Linked DNA regions of Homo sapiens: region 2 is linked to region 1. The links are contacts of gene promoters, found by promoter capture Hi-C in blood cells and fetal thymus (Javierre and others, 2016). All regions are on one chromosome and are shown on one strand. Each heading gives the region's core, a stretch centred on a gene start or on the middle of the fragment in contact. The rest is flanking DNA. Distances are from core to core; before and after follow the strand shown.

Region 1 (5,271 bases), core at 2,040-4,539:
TGTCAACTCAAATACAATCGATGACCCTCACTTTCTATAATAAAGTCCAAATGCTCTAGCCTGACATTCGTTGTCTTTCTACTAAACTAATTTCCAACCTTATCAACTTTCTTAGCAAAAATCTTTGAGTTCACTGAAATTATCTTGATCACCCAAATATATGTAACTGATACATTGACCAAGAAGGACTCATGAGATGTAATTTTCAAATCTTTATTTCTGTTTCCCATTAATAATTGAAACTTTATTTCATGATGGTCACCTTGGATGAAAACCTAGGTACGTCCTATGGTCATTTTTTTTTTTACATGTACACAGTATAAATTCAGGAGTGTGAATATGAGAATAGTATATTAATCTACAATCAATCTTCATGGAAAGCTGAGAATTCTTTGCCATCTCCCAGACAGGAACTTCTGGTAGCTATTGCATGCTGTAGGAGAAGGGTTGGCGGGAGGCAGTGCAACTGGCTTTCTCATGTCTTTCTGTACACACTTCCCTCACTCCTAGCTGCTATTTTGGACACCTTCTGGACAGAGATTGGGAGTGGCATAAAGGATATTTAAAGTTGACCTCTTCCTTCAAGGGCCACTTTCACGGGTTCTGTGAAGACCCCAATGACTAATGATCTCACCTGCAGGCTTCCTGACCATTTTACTCTACAGTGATCCTCAGCCCCACAGAACTCCCTCTCCATCTTCAGGATCCCCTCTAGGTGGCCCTATTGGACAAGTTCTAAGATGGCCTATAATGCACTATCTCTGGTCCTCAGGAAGCACTCATTTATTCTATGCCTGTACAAAATCTAAAAGTGCAGCCCATTCACAACACAGTAAGCACACTCCCCACACCACCACCAAGTCGCTGGCTGGCCTTCTCTGCCTTAGATATTTTCCCAGCAGGAGTCAGATAGCAATGTAACTAACTACAGGAGGCCCAGAATGCTCAGAAATCCCACTAAAACCCTCTCTCGTCTTGACAGGAAGAGGATCTTACCTCCTACCTTACACCTTTAGTTCTCTCTAAAGAAATCCTCATCACCAACTTCCCTATGCTTCAACTGCCTTATGTATATAAGATGTGTAAGGTATGTAACAAGTTTCTGATAAGTCGTTTGTAACTTGCCTATGGTGTAGCACTTTCCTTGGAATCAGCTTTGATTGTATCTAGTGTTTAAGCGGAAACTTTCAACATTTGGTAATATACATTTAGCCCTTGTTCATTACCAAGCTTTTTGAAATACACTTTCAGAAAGAACATTTCAGTTTCTTTCAAAAGAAACTGTTTCCCAATCCATATTCTATCCATATTTACAAGTTGTAATTATAGTTTTCGTTTAAATGCAACACCAGGATTTAAAGAATCTTTGAAAAAATGCTAAACACTTGCAGTTTATCAATTTCTAATCACTAAAAAAATGTATTTCACTATTTTTCTAGAAACATCACAGCTTGGCGGCTATTTTGGTTCTTAAATGTAAAATGGTTGGACACAAACCTTGTTTGAACAAAATTTAGAATCTTCACAGTTCACCCAATCCAAATGCATATGATACTATATAACTAGAACAAGTTCTGACTATCGATTTAGAAATCCGTTTATCAGGTTTTCTTCCTCTGATGCTAATTAAAAAAAAAAACAGAACAAGCATCTTCACTGGGCTGCAATTGAAATTACCATGTACACATGTTTCTGTCTTTTTCAGCATGTTTTATATGATTTTTATGTAATTTAAAGAGAAAAAAACAGTCAGAATGAATTAGTCTCAATCCACTATGAATAGCTGTGTATCACTAACTATAGTATTTGACCTCCCTATACACACCTGTTCCCTAATTTGTAAAGTGGGAAACACCAAACCCACCTCGCAGAGTTAATAATGAAATGATTAACAGATGTAAAGTGCTTAAAAAGACCCCTAGCAACAGAAGGCGCTAAATAAAAGTTAGCGTTTCTTCTCTCAGTTCTCTTTTTATTCTCACTCCTGCCTTCAATTACCCCCAAAGTGATTTTATATACATGACTTTGAAATCACCTGAGGAAAAGCAGTTTGGGGGAAAAAAAGGCATTTCCTTTAAAAGTACCCTCATTTTTCCCTTCCATGATCATCTTGTTCCACACTGTGAAGTTTCTTCACTACCCTTTAGGCACTTTATATTTATTAGAAGCATTAGCTTCCCTTTAATTTGTCTAATCTCTAGAACTGAATTTTAATAGCAACTTCCTTAACATGACTAGGAACTTTTAACAGGAACTGAATTTTCCTGTGAAAAAGAAACTTGGTCTTATATTTACTTCTTTTGTTCCCTAATATTCCACAAAGTCCCTTTCCAAAATAGAAACTCACTGAAGATTTATTTATTGTCTCTTCTGGTGAAGATTAAAAACTTTCAAGATTGGTGGGGCAAGGTCTTAGTGGCCCTCAACATTAGTAATTAGGAGGTGCTTATTCTAGGAATTGTGAGAACTGTAAAAACATAGTGATGTAAATAGTGAGCAATTAGTATGGTTACCAATTTTAACCAACTGCAATAGGGGAGTGTTTTGGGAAGTCAAAAGGAACCCACATGGGCTCTGATAAGAGGATAGCTTTCAAAATCATACTTCATAAGGCTAGCCTGTATGAGATTAGCTCAAGGTAGAAAAACCTCGAATGGATATCATTTAAATTACTATCTTCATAATGAGTAAAAATACCACCTTAGTCCATTCTGTGCTGCTATAAAACAACACCCAAGACTGGGTAATTTACAAAAAAACAAGAATTTATATTCTCACAGTTCAGGAGTCCGAGATCAGGGCCCTGGTAGATTCGATTCCGTTGTCTTGTGAGGGCTGTTCTCTGCTTTAAAGATGGTGCCTTACTGCCGCATTCTCTAGAAGGAAGAACACCACATCCGCAGAAGGGAAAGCTAGCTGAACCCTGCATGATGCCACTTTAATAAGGGCCTTAATTTGGGGAGGAGCCCTCATGACCTAATCGCCTCTTAAGGGCCCTACCTCTTAATACTATCACATTGGCAACACCTGAATTTCACAGCGGCCACACTCAAACCGTAGCAAATATTCTTCTTGTTGTAGGTTGCTGTTGCAGGTTGCATTCACTGGAAAGTAGACTCTGTGACAGATACTAGAATGCAGGAGGATTATTAGTGGGTTGTATTAGTCCATTTTCACACTGCTGTAAAGATACTACCTGAAACTGAGTAATTTATAAACAAAAGAAGTTTAATTGACTCACAGTTCAGCATTGCTGGGGAGGCCTCAGGAAATCATGGCAAAAGGCAAAGAGGAAGCAGGGACCTTCACATGGTAGCAGGAGAGAGAGCACAGAGGAAACTGCCATTTTAAACCATCAGATCTTGTAAGAACTCCCTCACTATCACGAGAACAGCAGGGGTAAAACTGCCTCCGTGATCTAATCACCTCCCACCAGTTCCCTCCTTTGACAACTAGAGATTTACAATTTAAGATGAGATTTGGGTGGGACACAAAGCCAAACTATATCAGGAGTCCTTTGAAATCAAAATTTAGGGAAGAAGATTTGAGAAGAGACGGGTTAGCTGTAATTCAGTCTCAATGAAGACCTCAGCTAGGAACTCTGAAGCTAAAATGACCTTCAGACTTGTCCTGAGTTAGAATAAAGACATCAGCCTTATCCCTCATGTTGATCTGTCACTGGAAACAGGGTGTCCTGGGAAGGAGACACGGCCTTAGAAGAGGTTGCTCTCTTGACCCTAAGTAATTTCTAAGGGTTTTCAGCTGAGGGCTGTCTACCAGCAGCACTCTTAGCGTTAAAGGTAGGAAGCCCATTGTTCTTGTTCTTAAGGGAGGAACTGGGTCCACCACACCTAGGAATGCTGACTCTATTTTAAATAGCATGTTAATGCCTATTTGAATAATGACCAACTTATATGGAGCAACTAGCAAGTGCCAGAACATTGTTAGGTACTGAAGTTCAAAATGAAACAAGACAGGCCGGGCACAGTGGCTCATGCCTGTAATCCCAGCACTTTGGGAGGCCGAGGTGGGCGGATCACAAGGTCAGGAGATCGAGACCATCCTGGCTAACACAGTGAAACCCCGTCTCTATTAAAAATACAAAAAAAAAAAAAAAAAATTAGCCAGGCGTGGTCGTGTATGCCTGTAGTCCCAGCTGCTGGGGAGGCTAAGGCAGGAGAATGGCGTGAACCCGGGAGGCGGAGCTTGCAGTGAGCGGAGATTGCACGACTGCACTCCAGCCTGGGCGACAGAGCGAGACTCTGTCTCAAAAAAAAAAAAAAAAAAAAGAAAAAAGAAACAAGACAGTTCTGGCTCTTGAAAACCTAGTATATGAAATTTTTAAAATATTAAATATACACTATGGGAATATTGTAATATTGTAATATATTCATCTATATGTGAGTCCACATGCCCACTTTGTGGGCCTTGTATAGACCATCTTCTAAAAACAGTTGGACAAACTAGAGCCTATGGGCCAAATCTGGCCTGCCACATATATTTACAAGTCAAGTTTTATGGGAACAATCATTTCCACTCATATATGTATTGTCTATGGCTGCTTTTTCTCTACAAGGGCAGAGTTAGGTATTTCCAAGAGAAAGCACATGGAATGCAAAGTCAAAATATTTACTATCTGGTCTTTCACAGAAAATGTTTGCTGTTTGCTCTGAGATTTATAGTAATATGATATTATGACAGGTCTACAAAGTATACATGATAGTAATCTGGGATTTATAATTTTATTTTTTAAGAATATATTGTCCACACATTGGAGAATATGTTATCTTTGATTATTAATCACATCCTACTTCCTTATTGCATAATGCTTATACCATAAAGAAATTTTCTTTTAAATATCTTTCATGTGTCCCTTTGCATCATCATCATCATCATCATAATGCAAACTAAAAAAAGAACACATTTTGAACATAACTCTAGATAAATTTAGTCAATGGCTTGAAATATGAATTAATGGTTCGATTCCACCGTGGATGAAAATATTGTGTGGTATCCCACAGTGTTTTATATGTATTATATTATTTTCAGCATTTTTATCAGGAATTTGGACTAAAACCAAAAGCATGTTTATCCAGTACGTGTATAATACAAAGCTGTGTAGCAGTAGTTACTATATTGGATGATAGAGACAGTATTCAAAAAGATTGAAAAATATTGGAAAGATGGGCCAAAACTAACAAAGTGAAATGTAACAGGGCTAATTATGAAGTTCTATATTTGGGTTAAAAAATCAAGCCACAAATGTACAAA
Region 2 (5,271 bases), core at 826-3,325, 320 kb after region 1:
TTTCGAGATTTCTGCAGCCACGTTCTAAATAAGAATTGCAGAATACTGTAAATTCAGATTTACAAAAAGAACACTTGGTGGAGAGTGGGGCAGAATTTCTGCCGCATTCTCTAAGCGCTTCCAAGAGATAAAATCCTGTAGCGGAAGATGCAAACGCAAGGGTGCAGGGGTGACTGTTTTGAGAACTGCTAGAGTGCTACTGAAATTAAGTGGAGGTCAAGTCGAATCTGATTTTCAGACAATTTTACAGTAAGGCAGCGGCTCACTAAACAGGCCAGTTGACAAGCTGTAGTCACTTTCTGAGTATTTCTGTAAAAATGGTAAGGGATCAACTCTGCAATTTGTCCCTCCCATGAAAGCACAGTCTTGTTTACACCTCGCTGGAGAAATAACACTCGCCCTCACTTCTCCCAAAAAGCTGAACCCTTCAGTCGGCCCAAGCAGCTCCACACCCTGAGGTTTCCAAGACCAAAGCTGCGAGTCTCAGCAGGGAACAGCCACGTGGCCTGCCTGCGCCTCGCCTGGGCTCTTGCCTTCAGCTTGAGATATCTGCAGCCGCGAACCTTGCTCCAGCCCAGAAAGGGGCGCTTTGCTCAATTAATTGTTCCCGCCGGCGAGTCCGTACTGAGAAGCCCATGAGCGGACCTTATGTGCAGGGTACTCCAGCGCGGTGCACAAAACTCGTCGCCCCCAAACGCTGCCCCCACCCCAACACTGTGTACTGACTCCAGCTTTTTACTTTGCCATGTAAGGGATGGACCTGAAACGGTTATTTTACCTCAATTCATTTCAAAAAGGAAACAAGTATGGCATTGCAAAAGATGGGCTTCTTATCCAAGGCGACTTCCTTTCTGGTTCACCAACTTTGCTGCTTCCAGTTTGCCAGGATCTACATTAACACCCTCTTTGGGGCTCTTCGTTTTAACTTACAGACAGAAATGCTTAAAATGTTAGCGTATCCAAGCATTTGGAATTGGGGCTCACGAAGCCTAATTGTCCACTGGATGCCCTAGATAGTGGGGGCTGGGGCGGGGGGGGTCTCAGAGCGGGCAGCCCCTATGTCTAGGCGCTATCAAATTCCCACTTCACTCTCTTACAAGCTGGCCTTTCAAGGTCACAATGCGGAGCCTAATTTGGGGGTGGGGATGAAATGGCCACAGGGTCTCTCCCTTGGGTTGGCATTGCCAGCTGTTAGGGCCGCAGCAAAGGCGCTGCGCTGCCCCCCTCTGGCTCTGCTGCCTTTCCCATGGACTGGGTTTCCTTCCACCGAAGAGTGAACTTCTGCCTCTTTCGAGCACCTTCCGAGGCGTAGTCCTTTGGATGTTGGGGAGCGTCAGACTGGGTCGTTGTAGAGGGGAAAGGAGGGCCCAGAAGGGCGAGAGAGCAGGCCGGGACGCAAATCCTCAGCCCCCGCGGCGCGGCCACGTCTTCAGAAACGCCCAGGACCTCCGGGCTGGGCCGCCGCGGTTTGGCCTTTGGAACTCCAAGGGGTTCGTCTACCTGACCATTGGGTGGGCTCCGCGGTTGACACTTTTCTTGGCATGCCCCCCCACCCCGCGCCACACCACCCCCCCAGCCCCAGCAATCCCAAATCGGCCCCACGGACCTAGAGGGCTCTTGGGCGAGATGAGACATCACCCACTGTGTAGAAGCTGTTGCCATTGCTGCTGTCACAGCCACTCCGGATGGGGCTGCCACCGCGGCCAGGACAGTCTCCTCCGACCGCTTCCTGGGCTGCGCTAGGGTTCGGGGGCGCTGCCCGCACGCTCCGGCGGGGAAGGAAATCGCCCCGCGCCCGCCGGAGGAAGGCGACGGGGAGGGAAGGGGGAGGGCGGCTAGGAGGCGGGTGGAGGGGCCGGCCGCCCGGGCCAGGTCGTTTTTGAATGGTTTGGGAGGACGAATTGTTAGACCCCGAGGAAGGGAGGTGGGACGGGGGAGGGGGACTGGAAAGCGGAAACTTTCCTATAAAACTTCGAAAAGTCCCTCCTCCTCACGTCAGGCCAATGACACTGCTGCCCCCAAACTTTCCGCCTGCACGGAGGTATAAGAGCCTCCAAGTCTGCAGCTCTCGCCCAACTCCCAGACACCTCGCGGGCTCTGCAGCACCGGCACCGTTTCCAGGAGGCCTGGCGGGGTGTGCGTCCAGCCGTTGGGCGCTTTCTTTTTGGACCTCGGGGCCATCCACACCGTCCCCTCCCCCTCCCGCCTCCCTCCCCGCCTCCCCCGCGCGCCCTCCCCGCGGAGGTCCCTCCCGTCCGTCCTCCTGCTCTCTCCTCCGCGGGCCGCATCGCCCGGGCCGGCGCCGCGCGCGGGGGAAGCTGGCGGGCTGAGGCGCCCCGCTCTTCTCCTCTGCCCCGGGCCCGCGAGGCCACGCGTCGCCGCTCGAGAGATGATGCAGGACGTGTCCAGCTCGCCAGTCTCGCCGGCCGACGACAGCCTGAGCAACAGCGAGGAAGAGCCAGACCGGCAGCAGCCGCCGAGCGGCAAGCGCGGGGGACGCAAGCGGCGCAGCAGCAGGCGCAGCGCGGGCGGCGGCGCGGGGCCCGGCGGAGCCGCGGGTGGGGGCGTCGGAGGCGGCGACGAGCCGGGCAGCCCGGCCCAGGGCAAGCGCGGCAAGAAGTCTGCGGGCTGTGGCGGCGGCGGCGGCGCGGGCGGCGGCGGCGGCAGCAGCAGCGGCGGCGGGAGTCCGCAGTCTTACGAGGAGCTGCAGACGCAGCGGGTCATGGCCAACGTGCGGGAGCGCCAGCGCACCCAGTCGCTGAACGAGGCGTTCGCCGCGCTGCGGAAGATCATCCCCACGCTGCCCTCGGACAAGCTGAGCAAGATTCAGACCCTCAAGCTGGCGGCCAGGTACATCGACTTCCTCTACCAGGTCCTCCAGAGCGACGAGCTGGACTCCAAGATGGCAAGCTGCAGCTATGTGGCTCACGAGCGGCTCAGCTACGCCTTCTCGGTCTGGAGGATGGAGGGGGCCTGGTCCATGTCCGCGTCCCACTAGCAGGCGGAGCCCCCCACCCCCTCAGCAGGGCCGGAGACCTAGGTAAGGACCGCGCCGCTGCACCCCTTCGCCTCTCAGGTGGCAGACGGCAGGCCGGCCAGGCCGCGGTTCCCAGTCCACCTCGATTTCCTCCCCTCTCCCACTCTCCGCTCAGCCTTCCCACCTCACTTGGCACCGTTGCCTCGCGCCCCCAGCGTCCCCGGAAGGCCGGTCTGACCCCGCTAGGGAGAGCAGTCTCCAGGGGGATGCGCCCTGGTGAGGGGTGTGTGTGCGCGTGAGTGTGCGTGACAGGAGGGGAGACAGAGACACCCAGGGTCACGGGTAAGGACCGTTTTGTCAGCGCCACCCTTTCTTTCGGCTTTCAATTTTTGTTCTCCTTAAAACAAATGTTTTAAAACAAATTCCACCTCCTCCTCCTTTCCACCCACCCACTTCCTCTTGCCCTTGGGCTGAAATCCTTCCAGGTTGTTCAGCTTAATTTCTCAGTGGTGGTGATAAGAACAGTGCTCACTAGTCTTAGAAAACAGCCGCAGAGACCTAAACAATAACCGACTCCCCCCCCCCCCTCTGGGTTTTTGCAGATGTCATTGTTTCCAGAGAAGGAGAAAATGGACAGTCTAGAGACTCTGGAGCTGGATAACTAAAAATAAAAATATATGCCAAAGATTTTCTTGGAAATTAGAAGAGCAAAATCCAAATTCAAAGAAACAGGGCGTGGGGCGCACTTTTAAAAGAGAAAGCGAGACAGGCCCGTGGACAGTGATTCCCAGACGGGCAGCGGCACCATCCTCACACCTCTGCATTCTGATAGAAGTCTGAACAGTTGTTTGTGTTTTTTTTTTTTTTTTTTTTGACGAAGAATGTTTTTATTTTTATTTTTTTCATGCATGCATTCTCAAGAGGTCGTGCCAATCAGCCACTGAAAGGAAAGGCATCACTATGGACTTTCTCTATTTTAAAATGGTAACAATCAGAGGAACTATAAGAACACCTTTAGAAATAAAAATACTGGGATCAAACTGGCCTGCAAAACCATAGTCAGTTAATTCTTTTTTTCATCCTTCCTCTGAGGGGAAAAACAAAAAAAAACTTAAAATACAAAAAACAACATTCTATTTATTTATTGAGGACCCATGGTAAAATGCAAATAGATCCGGTGTCTAAATGCATTCATATTTTTATGATTGTTTTGTAAATATCTTTGTATATTTTTCTGCAATAAATAAATATAAAAAATTTAGAGAACCTTAGAGTTTGGTCTATATTTTTAAAACTAAAGATTAAGTTGGTGGTAAATACCTGCTTGTTTAATTCTAGAGGCACCCAGGAGGGAGGGGGCACTAATATAAACAAAGCAATGAAAAACTCAAATAAAGCAGCTACTGACAGGCACAAGCATGTTATTTTAAAAGACAGCTTTATTATTATTCCAGTTTGGTATTCAGAGGGCTTAGTAGCATCTCTTCATCTCTTACTGTCTCCAAACAGCAAAAACTTAACAAATTTGCTATTCACCTCCTTTTTATTTTGAGGTGATAGTTGTTAAAACAGTTAAATGCAAATAAGGAGTATAAAACCTGCACTATTCTCTTATTATGTACTTTTTGTCATGCTCTTCACTCTTTGTGAAGATTCCTAAATAACAGGTTCTTTTCAGTGAAAACATATATAGTGTTATGAAAATTATCTATACACATATAGAAATGACCAGAAATGCATAGAAAATAAAGTGTAAATCAGCAGAAAAGAGAAAATTCCATTTGTAATTTGCTTAACTCTTCTCTCATGAATGAATATGACGTTTAGTGTCATGTTTGCTAAAAAGAAAAGTTAATATATCGCTATATTGACGCTATTTGGGAAGCATCATTCTTTTTTTATGTGTAAAGAATATAAGGCTGTGGAATAATATACAAAAATGAAGATCCTGAACTTTCAGTATCCTTGGTAACTGGATATAATCACAGTTGGAATAATCACAGTTTTAAATACTACAGCTATGCAGTTACTAGTCAGTTCATTAGCGTTATATTTTATCCAGAATTACACAGAATTTTTCCCTGGTGAGATCATACATACACACACACACAATCTGAAGTTAAGTAAAACAATAATGGGCAAACGGGGGTGTTTGATTTTTTATTTCATTCTGATTATTTGTGGGCCAGGAACATACTGGCTTTTATAATTAACATTATTAGAAATAGTGATTTTGTATCAGTTCTTAGCTTTTACATCCGATTTACTGCATCCAAGTGTAACTGGGGAAGCTT

What was found. Contacts are between HindIII fragments. The CHiCAGO score rates a contact against its expected background, and 5 or more counts as called.
Region 2: the fragment with the promoter of TWIST1 here is called in contact with a fragment that was not itself captured in region 1 in 4 of 17 cell types (megakaryocytes, M0 macrophages, M2 macrophages and 1 more); the score reaches 9.1 in megakaryocytes.

The regions. Positions count from the first base shown.
Region 1 is chr7:19,437,814-19,443,084 of GRCh38, reverse strand. No RefSeq gene overlaps it. Among named protein-coding and RNA genes, the nearest start is that of MIR3146, 260 kb to the left of the region's middle. The HindIII fragment of the contact is 4,114 bases long and covers 1,233-5,271 here.
Region 2 is chr7:19,114,440-19,119,710 of GRCh38, reverse strand. It overlaps TWIST1 (twist family bHLH transcription factor 1), which reads left to right and starts at 2,075. Exons shown (of 2, transcript NM_000474.4): 1 at 2,075-3,040; 2 at 3,580-4,243. The coding sequence starts at 2,390. The coding sequence ends at 2,998. RefSeq lists enhancers at 65-928, 2,002-2,785, 2,809-3,068. The HindIII fragment of the contact is 6,123 bases long and covers 1-5,270 here.